Regions from separate parts of the Homo sapiens genome. Here region 1 is linked to region 2. Evidence: promoter capture Hi-C in human tissues and cell types (Jung and others, 2019). All regions are on one chromosome and are shown on one strand. Each heading gives the region's core, a stretch centred on a gene start or on the middle of the fragment in contact. The rest is flanking DNA. Distances are from core to core; before and after follow the strand shown. Region 1 holds the start of CLIP1 (CAP-Gly domain containing linker protein 1). Region 2 holds the start of ACADS (acyl-CoA dehydrogenase short chain).

Evidence for each region. The method cuts DNA at HindIII sites, captures the fragments that hold promoters and counts their contacts. A contact is called where the count stands out against the background at its distance.
Region 1: a contact is called between the fragment with the promoter of CLIP1 here and the fragment with the promoter of ACADS in region 2, in 1 of the 25 tissues and cell types used here (aorta).

The regions. Positions count from the first base shown.
Region 1 is chr12:122,419,852-122,424,593 of GRCh38, forward strand. CLIP1 (CAP-Gly domain containing linker protein 1) reads right to left here and starts at 2,818. Exons shown (of 26, transcript NM_001247997.2): 1 at 2,670-2,818. RefSeq lists silencers at 2,115-2,514, 2,535-2,884 and an enhancer at 3,994-4,093. The HindIII fragment of the contact is 23,258 bases long and covers 1-4,742 here.
Region 2 is chr12:120,724,405-120,729,729 of GRCh38, forward strand. ACADS (acyl-CoA dehydrogenase short chain) reads left to right here and starts at 1,422. Exons shown (of 10, transcript NM_000017.4): 1 at 1,422-1,527; 2 at 2,622-2,785. The coding sequence starts at 1,482. RefSeq lists an enhancer at 1,094-1,595 and a silencer at 1,232-1,741. The HindIII fragment of the contact is 31,377 bases long and covers 1-5,325 here.

The DNA.
Region 1 (4,742 bases), core at 1,568-4,067, 1.7 Mb after region 2:
CTTGAGCCTGGGAAGCGGAGGTTGCACCACTGCACTCCAGCCTGGGCAACAGAGCGAGATGCGAGACTCTGTCTCAAAAAAAAAAAAAAAAAAAAGCAAGAATCAAACATGACTGAGTTAGTTCATGTCCCTTATGAGTCACATGGGATGTGACAGAGTGAATTTTAGCCACTAGGTAAAAAAAATTTTTTTTAAGATAAGGACATCAGGCCAGGCGTGGTGGCTCACACCTATAATCCCAGCACTTTGGGAGGCTGAGGCAGGCGGATCACCTGAGGTCAGGTGTGATCAGCCTGGCTGGCCAACGTGATGAAACTCCATCTCTACTAAAAAAATACAAAAAATTAGCCAGGCATGGTGGCAGGCACCTAAAATCCCAGCTACTCGGGAAGCTGAGGCAGGAGAATCGCTTGAACCCAGTAGGCAGAGGTTGCAGTGAGCCGAGATCACTCCATTGCACTCCAGCCTAGGCAACAAGAGTGAAATTCCATGTCAAAAAAAAAAAAAGAGATAAGGATATCAGATTCTAAACTCCTCAATAGGACAGAAACCAGATTAGCTTATGTCATGCTGAAGTGCAAGCTGGAGCTGAAGCAATGATTGAAAAAATAGGGAAGGGCAAAATCTTGATCTTCAGGCAAAATACCTACCCAGGGTCCCACCCGGTTTCAGTTTTCCCCTTTGAACTAGGTCTAGTGGGAAGATGTACTTAACTGCTTTCTCTGAACCTTAAAAATCGGGCACAAGCCTTTGGCCAAGCAATTACCCACTTCAACTTTGCTTTAATGTAGACCAGCCTTGGGGCCAGGTGCGGTAGTTCACACCTGTAATCCCAGCACTTTGGGAGCCCAAAGCAGGTGGATGACTTGAGCCCAGGAGTTCGAAATCAGCCTGGGCAACGTGGTGAAACCCCATCTCTACCACAGATACAAAAATTAGCCGGGCGTGGTGGCGGGCACCTGTAATTCCAGTACTCAGGAGGCTGAGGCACGAGAATCGCTTAAACCTGGGAGGCCGAGATTGCAGTGAGCTGAGATCACGCCACTGCACTCTGGCCGGGGGGACAGATTGAGGCTCCCTCTCATTGATTGATTGATTGATTGATGGATGGATAGACAGACAGACAGACTAGCCTTGCTTTTTGCCACAGATTCCCTATACTAATCGAATAACTAAGCACCTGAAGTCAGAATACCTGAGTTCACATGCTGGTAAAAGGTATTCTGACTTCAGGTGCTTAGCTGTATAACCCTGGTCAAGTTACTTGACCTTTCTATGACCCTCCTGCCGAATGCACATGACGACAGCACGCTCACTGGGTTAGGGTTGATTAAATGAAATAAAACACATAAAAAGCTAGCCCAGAGCCTGGCCACAAGATGCCTTCAATAAATGTTCATTGTTATAATTTACAGAGAAAAAAAGGCCCCAAGTCTGAGAAGCGACATGCCTGGGGATTCTTGCTAAAGGTTATCATTAAATCTAAAAGTCAAACAAACACATTCCTGACTCTGGGATACTCTCCTGATTCGTGGATACCATCGCTAACAGTAGTGACACAAATCAAATAATAAGAACAGCCAGAATCATAACCCTAATGACAGCAGTGGCCACAGCACTTAATACTTATAGAGCTGCTAGGGGCCACTGTCCTAAAAGAGGAAGAAGGCCAGGCTGCTGAATCACACACACACAATTACAGAATCTTCTCCACCCTTTGTTTTAAAAAACAGTTCACTGGCGCCCAAGTTTTGCTAAAAACAGGTATCTAAACCGATGACGGACAACGTGTAATTTCTTCATACCAAAGAGGTGGGGCTGTGCAGGGAGGAGGGGGTGGCGCTCGGCTCCTGCCAGATGGAAAAGCCACATGAAGTGGAGAAACAGCCGGATTCAGGATTCACCCCCGAATCAAAACCCGATTTTTGAAAGGCAGGACCTTCCAATTCGGGCAATCGCTAGGTTCTGCTTGTAAAATAACCTCTGAACAAGTGTCATCTGCCTTCCGCGCCAATCCCCTGCCGCGGTAGAAGGTTCGGATTACCGGGCAGCGGTGTGATTTCGGAAACCCGAGAGCGATCTGGCCACCTCCAGCCTTCCCCGGTCTCCGAGAATCACAGCCCCACTTGAGAGGAAAACAAAAGCCGGGGCAGCGGGGGAGGCCGGGCCAGGGTGCCCTCCATGCCGGATCGCGGGCGCCGGGCACCCGGGGCCTGAGGAATGCTCAGGTGACAGGCGCGGCGCCCGGGGCAACAGGTCCCGCCCGGCTTCGGCCTCCCGGGGTCCGGCCGATCCCACATCCGCCCCGGGGCCCAGGAGAGGGAGCGGGGCGCCAGGGAGAGAGCGGCGCCTGGGGCGGCGCAGGGGCAAGGAGTCCAAGCTCCATCTTGAGGCGGGCGGAGGAAGCGAAGGCCCGGCTCGGCGCTGACAGGGCCGCCACTTTTCCAGCTCCGGAGGAGCCCCCCAGGGACCCCCGGCCTCCGGCGCCGGCCACCCGAGACTCCCGCGGTCCCCTCCCGGACGGCTCCGGCGCGCGAGGCTCGGCCCCGCTCCCGGACGCCGGGCTTCGACCCCCGACCCGACCCTGGGCGGGCCCCGCAGGCCGGGAAGCCGGCAGGGGAGCAGGGGGTGCCGGGAAAGGGAGAGGGCCCGCGCCGCCCCCTGCTCACCTCCTCGGACGCCGCCGGTCGCCGCCACCTGTCCCACTGCAGCAGCAGCAGCCGCCGCGGCCGCCGCCTCCCGCCTCCCGGCTCGTCGGCTCGGGGCGGGGGAGAGCGTGACGCGCCGCCGCCGCCGCGGGGCCGGGCGGGCGCGCGCTGCCAGGAGAAGACGCCGCGCGGCTCCTCCCAGCGCTCCGCCGCCGCGCCCGCCCGGCCGGCCCGGCCGGCCCGGCCCCTCGAGTCCGCACCGGCCCTGCGGCCCGCGCCCGGCCCCGCGCCGCCCCGCCGCCTCTTTGTCTGCGCCCACCGCGGCCCCGGGAGGACCCTGGCCCCGGCGCGCCCGCCGCTCCGCCCTCGAACCCTCCCGAGCCCCGGCTTGGGGAGCAAGGTGCGAGGGAAAACCCACAGGCCTGCTCCGAGGGGCTTCTCGTCATTTCTGCAAAGTGTTCCCAGAATTTGCAAGTCACACCCAAGAGCCCCATTCAGCCTCGACCTCAGCCCGCTCTTTGGGGCTGATTCATTTGTTTGCCCTCCCCTTCCCGCCAGACAAGGGTGAGAAATCCTTTGAAACAGGCTGCAAGGCGCTTCCGAAGCAGGTTAAGTTGGGGATTGGGAAGGATCATCTCTGCCCTCGCCTCCCTCCAGGGAAAGACCCTGGATGAGGCGTCCCTGGAGAAAATGCTGAAAGGAACTGTAGAGCAGGTTAAGCTTGGGAAGAACTGTATCTGCTCCCCACTTCCCTCCGGGAACGACCGCGGGTTAAAAATCCTTTGAAACGATCCCAGGGTTTGCTCCGTTCGTTTGAGAAAAGCCCCTTTTATTCGCCCTGGCTGCTTGGACGGAAGCCCTGGTTAGTGTCCCATCCTCCTTCCCCCCTGGGATTTCCTTTAAAAGCTTTTGAAAGGGACAGGAGGGAAGGCTGCAACAGCCTGCTCGGGGCTGGGGTAGCAGAGGGCGGCCAGCATTTCACTCCCATGGACCATGGCAACCCCAGAAGCCTTACATCTCCAGGGAGGAATTTGCAGCTGTCGGGGAAGCCCAGGATTTTGTGGTGGATAAGGGGGCAGGGGCTTCCTCCTCCTTGCCAGTAGAAGAGAATAATCGGCGGGTGACCCCTCTAGCTGACCTTTATTCAAAGCACCGTGCTGCCTGGACCAGCAGGAAGAGGGAACTGCTCTGGTAATGCACGAAGTTCTGAACTATGTAAATTTGTCTCCTGGCCCCTCCTCTCCATTCATGTCTGAAATCCCTCGAAATGCTGTTACCTAATTCAACATCGCCCTAATTTACAGGCTGCAAGGTCAGGTGGTGGTGGTACTCCTGAAATCCCATATCCATATTCCTAATCTGAAAGGCGCGCCTCACCCCCTAATCTAAACAGTCTTCAGCTGTAATCAGCAAGCTGTGGAATCATAGATGTCATAGGATGAGGCACAGACCACTTCTAATGGGGGAGTTCAGCTAGGAACACTTATGGGCTTGTCTTTTCTTCTCTACTCAGTAGGCTGAGCCTGTCTTTATTAAAAATATTGTTTTGGGGCTGGGTGTGGTGGCTCACGCCTGTAATTCTAGCACTTTGAGAGACCCAGGTGGGTGGATCACCTGCAGACAGGAGTTCAAGACCAGCTTGGCCAACATGGTGAAACCCCGTCTCTAACAAAAAATACAAAAATTAACTGGGCATGGTGGTGCATGCCTGTAGTCCCAGCTACTCGGGAGGCTGAGACACGAGAATTGTTTGAACCCGGGAGGCGGAGGTTGCTGTGACCAGAGTTCAAGCCACTACACTCCAGCCTGGGTGCCGGAGGGAGACTCTGTCTCAAAAAATATATATATATATACACATGTATATATATATGTATATATATGTGTGTGTGTGTGTGTGTGTATATTTGCTTGTTCTCATGGGTTATTCTATGTCATTGTCATGTTCATCATTTGCTTATTTATTTATAATTATATCATTTTGTTCATCATGGAGTCTTGGCGTTAATTTTTTTTTTTTTTTTTTTTTTTGAGATGGAGTCTCACTCTGTCGCCCAGGCTGGAGTGCAGTGGTGCGATCTCGGCTCACCGCAAGCT
Region 2 (5,325 bases), core at 172-2,671:
CTCTATTGGAAAACTTGGATACTTTTAAAATGAAATTTGAACGTTCATATTTACAGTCACAAATTCTCAAGAGTCTGGTTTAGATGCTCTGTGGCACCTGAAGCAATTATTGGCCTTTGCTCACAAACACAACTCACTTATTTCTCCCTTTTCTCCTGCTTCTTCATCGTTTCTTCCACCCAGGGCTGGTTCCCAGGTGGGATGACGGAAAGGTGAGGAAGCCCTTAGAGCATTTGCCAATGGGAGCCATTCATTTGACTTTAAAGTACTGAGAATTTAGAGGCGTTCTTTTAAATGCATTATTTAAAAAGAAAGGTAACACATTAAGGACTTTGCTGCATCTTTTGATTGGCTTTCTTCTAGGAAGTAGTGACCGAGGTTTCCACTTTCCTCCAAGAGGAAGAGACAGAAGTTTTGGCAAATAGGTCAATGCTGGGAACAGATGCCTGCCTGGCTGAGTGCTGGGAAAGAAAGGCAGTTGGAGGGATGTGTGGGTGCCTGGGAGGGCGTGGGTGGTGCCCAGGAGGCTATGGGAATCAGAATCACACTTGCACAAGAGAAGACCCTTATGGGACAAGTAAAATCAGCATAGTTTCTTGGGCGGGGCAAAGGTGTCCTGATGAGGATGCTAGGGGTCAAATATGTGTCTGGGTTCTGCCCCAATCGGGAATGAGACACAGTACTGAAGTGGAACGGGGGTAGCATCTCCACCCACCTTCACAGCCTCTGGGGAAAAGAAAGCTTTCCTTGCAGCCCAACTCCAGGGGCCTAAATATTGAGCACCAACACAAGACAGGTCCTTGAGCTTCTCGGAGCGAGTCGGGGAAGCAGATAATTTCAGATGCAAAGTGCCTTGAATAAACAGAACGAAAGATAGAGAGCCAGAGGGGGAGAAACGGCTTGGTGTGGTCAGGGCAGGCATCCATGAGACCTAAACGAAGAGGGGGCATTCCAGACAAAAGGAACAGTGATCACAGAGGCCCCGAGTCAGGAACCAGCTAAGGGTCTTAGAGAAGAGCTGCCTCGTAAAGCTAAGCAACAATAACCAGGGAACGGTGGGCATGGGCCCTGATAGACAAGGCAGGTCTTGGCTTTTTAAGCCATAGAATTGGATTTTAGGAGGGATGGGCCCGCCGACAAAGCCAACAAAGTTTTAACCCGAAGATCGCTATCTTATTTATGCTTTAAAAAGACCTCTCTGGCCTTTCTGCGAAGCTCTATCCTTAGCTTTCTCTTGTTAGCATTTTGATTAACGAATGTGGGCACGAACAGCCAGCTGACCGACCGCGCGCGCAGTCGAGCGTCGGTTCCTCGCCTTGGGAGGGACCACTGGAGGCCCCGCCCCCTGGCCGCGAGCGCACCTCGGCCCCGCTCCCGAGGCCCTACGGGCGTGGCCTCTGTCCCGGGTCCCGCCCCCCAGCACTCCGGAACAGCGCGCTCGCAGCGGGAGGTCGCGAAGCCTGGGACTGTGTCTGTCGCCCATGGCCGCCGCGCTGCTCGCCCGGGCCTCGGGCCCTGCCCGCAGAGGTGAGTGCGCTGGGGATCCGTACGGCGGGGCTTCAGCCCGCGTCTGGCCCAGCGGGCGGAGGTCCTGGCGGCCGGCTCTGTCAGAGCCGCTGGCAGGCGGAGCCCCACTCCGGGAGCGCTCACGGCCTTTGCCCCAGTTCTGCTGCTCCTTGCGCCGACCCAGCCCGGCCCTTCAGGCGTCCCTGGTTCCTGCACAGACCCCTACCCCCCGATTGACCCCAGCCACCAGCCCAGTTCCCAGTTCCCATATCTCCCTCCCTTCATTTCACCCCCACTAGAGGTTCAGGGTGCGTCCTTCTTCCGGAGCCAGGCCTGGGATTGAACCAGACCCGCATCTGTGACCTTGGGCAAGACAGCCCCTCCTCAGCCTCGGTTGGCCCATGTGTAAAATGTCCACAGAGAAAATCAGAGTTGTTGGGAGGATTAAATCATAGGGTATGTAAAGCACTTCGTGCCTGGCGTGTAACAGGTGTTCCACAAATGCTCGTTCTTGCTGGTTAATACAGTACCTTTCCCATCTTACGTGTCTCCAGTTGTAGCAGCCGTGACACATATAGCCACGGCTTCCTTTGCCTGGCCTGAATTACAAGGGGAACGCTACTGAGAACTGTGTTAAGCGCTAGTTAGTCTTTCTTTCGCACTCCGAGGAGCGGAATACTATTCGCCTCCACTTGTTATAGAAACGGAGGCTCACTGACGTTTAAAACCCTTGCCTAAGGTCACAGAGCTGAGGTCTTATTACTGTTGGTATTATACTGAGGACTGAAGGATGTAGTGTATGGAAATGTCTAGTGAGTGTACTAAGCATTCAGTTAGTATGGGGTTTTCAGTGGCCGCCATGGACATTTTGGGCTGACAGTTCTTTGTTGTGGGGGCTGTCCTCTGCCTTGTTGGATGTTCAGCAGGGATCCCGGACCCCTATCCACTGGGTACCAATAGTATTCCCCTGCTCTAGTTGTGACAACTAGAACTGGCTCCAGACATTGCCAGATGTCCCTTGGAGGGCAAAATCCTCCCTGGTGAGTTAGTGGGTCACTAGGATTCTTGGAGACCTCCTGCCTCCTCCTTCCACTCACTTCTGCCCTTGCCGGCAGCTCTCTGTCCTAGGGCCTGGCGGCAGTTACACACCATCTACCAGTCTGTGGAACTGCCCGAGACACACCAGATGTTGCTCCAGACATGCCGGGACTTTGCCGAGAAGGAGTTGTTTCCCATTGCAGCCCAGGTGGATAAGGAACATCTCTTCCCAGCGGCTCAGGTGAGAGTGCAACCTCAGCAGCCCACGATAGTGGTCTGCCCTCTGCTACTGGATGAATGGTGGCAGTGACAGTCAGCGGCACTCGGACTCTGGTAGAGGAACCCCAAAGCAGGGCCTGGAACCCAGAAAATGCTCTGGAAGTTTCCCTTGTCCAGCCTGTGGCCAGTAGCCAGGACTTAACTTCTGGGACAACAGTAATATGTGGTGGATGGTCAGTTGCTTACTGTGCCAGCCACTGTGCTCATTCTAAATAGTGCCTTTAGGGTGTTTGGCATGCACTAGGCACTGTTCTTGAGATGGGTTATCTCATCTGTTCCTCACAACGGTCCTGTGAGGTGAAGGTACTATTCTTATTTATTTTTTTGAGACGGAGTTTCACTCTTGTGGCTCAGGCTGGAGTGCAATGGTGCGACCTCGCCTCACTGCAGCCTCTGCCTCCTGAGTTCAAGTGATTCTCCTGCCTCAGCCTCCCAAGTAGCTGGGATTATAGGCGTGCACTGCTCTGCCCCGCTACTTTTGTATTTTTAGTAAAGACGGCGTTTCACCATGTTGGCCAGGCTGGTCTCAAACTCCTGAATTCAGGTGATCTGCCCACCTCGGCCTCCCAAAGTGCTGGGATTACAGGTGTGAGACACCACGCCCGGCCAAAGGTAGTATTATTATATACCCCATGGACTCAGACTTGTGAACAAGTTAAATAACATACCCAAGGTCATGGAGCTCATCAGCGGCAGCCTGCTCGACCTATTTTCTTTTTTATTTACTTATTTTTTTTTGAAATGGACTCTCGCTCTGTTGCCCAGGCTGGAGGGCAGTGGCGCAATCTCAACGCACTGCACCCCTCTGCCTCCTGGGTTCAAGCAATTCTCCTGCCTCGGCCCCCAGTAGCTGGGATTACAGGCGGGCACCACCACGCCCAGCTAGTTTTTGTACTTTCAGTAGAGATGGGGTTTCTCCATGTTGGGCAGGCTGGTCTCAAACTCCTGACCTTAGGCGATCTGCCCGCCTTGGCGTCCCAAAGTGCTGGGATTACAGGCGTGAGCCACCGTGCCCGGCCTGCTTGAACTGTTTTCTCCCCTGAGTTTCCCATCAGCGCGCTCCCTCCCGTGCCACTGTGTTCTTCCATTTGCATTCAGTCTGTCTGCAGCTACGCGTTGAAGATGTTACTGCCGTACACGCTGACCTAAAGATGTCCAGCACCTGGTGTAAACACTCAGTAGTAGATAGTTGTTTAATTAATGATTTGTGAAAAGTCAAACCTCTCCGGCCTCTTCTCCTTGCCTGTTTTTTTTTTTAATTTTAATTTTAATTTATTTTTTATTTTTAAAAATTTTTTGAGACAGTCTTGCTCTGTCACCAGGTTGGAGTGCAGTGGCGCGATCTCGGCTCACTGCAACCTCCGCCTTCTGAGTTCAAACAATTGTTTCCTGCCTCAGCCTCCCGAGTAGCTGGGATTACAGGCGCACACCACCATACCCGGCTAATTTTATGTATTTTAGTAGAGACGGGGTTTCACCGTGTTGCCCAGGCTGGTCTCAAACTCCTGAGCTCAGGCAATCCACCCGCCTCGGCCTCGCAAAGTGCTGGGATTACAGGCGTGAGCCACCACACCCGGCCTTAAAAATGAGTTTTAAAAGGGACGTAAAACATTGTTTTTATATGAGGGACCCACTAACCGTTTCCCAGATATGAAGGCAGCAGGTGCTGCAGGCTTGCCTTGTCTGTCACTGCTGGGAAAGGGGTCTTACAGTTTCTTACGGTTTCTCTTGGGAGTCTGGAGACCACCAGGCTCAGCCTCATCAGTGCTGTTGCCTCTTCTCAGGGTGCAGGTCAGGGTTGCTGGGTCACAGACACTAGGAACCAAGAGTGACCATTGCAGGGGGCTCTAGGAGGCCACCCCTTGAGATAGCTCTGAAGGTCAGGCCTCTCTGTAGAAAATACTAAAATATTGGGGCTGGGACGGGCGCCTGGCTGCTGTTAGTTAATTACCATCAATTTACATAGGTCAGAAACGATGGACAAACCCGAACCCATTTTTTTCCCTTGACTGCTTCTCTTTTTCTTTTTTCTTTTTTTTTTTTTTTTTGAGATGGAGTCTCACTCTGTCCCCCAGGCTGGAGTGCAGTGGTGCGATCTTGGCTCACTGCAGCCTCTGTCTCCCAGGTTCAAGTGATTATCCTGCCTCAGCCTCCCAGGTAGCTGGTACTACAGGTGCCCGCCACCATGCCTGGCTAATTTTTGTATTTTTAGTAGAGATGGGGTTTCACCATGTTGGCCAGGCTGGTCTTGAACTCCTGACCTCAGGTGACCTGGCTGCCTCAGCCTCCCAAACTGCTGGGATTACAGGTGTGAGCCACTGCTTAATTATATTTTGGGTTTCTCCTTTTTGACTGTCTCGTCTCTTCCCTCTCCTGCCACCCCTTTTTCCTTCCCTCGGTGCTGGTCTCCCTGTCTCTTTTTCAGGAGGCCCTTTAACGAGTGCACATTACCATGGTTATTGCTTTTGTCCCCACTTTTTTTCTAGAATGTTCCTGTAGCTG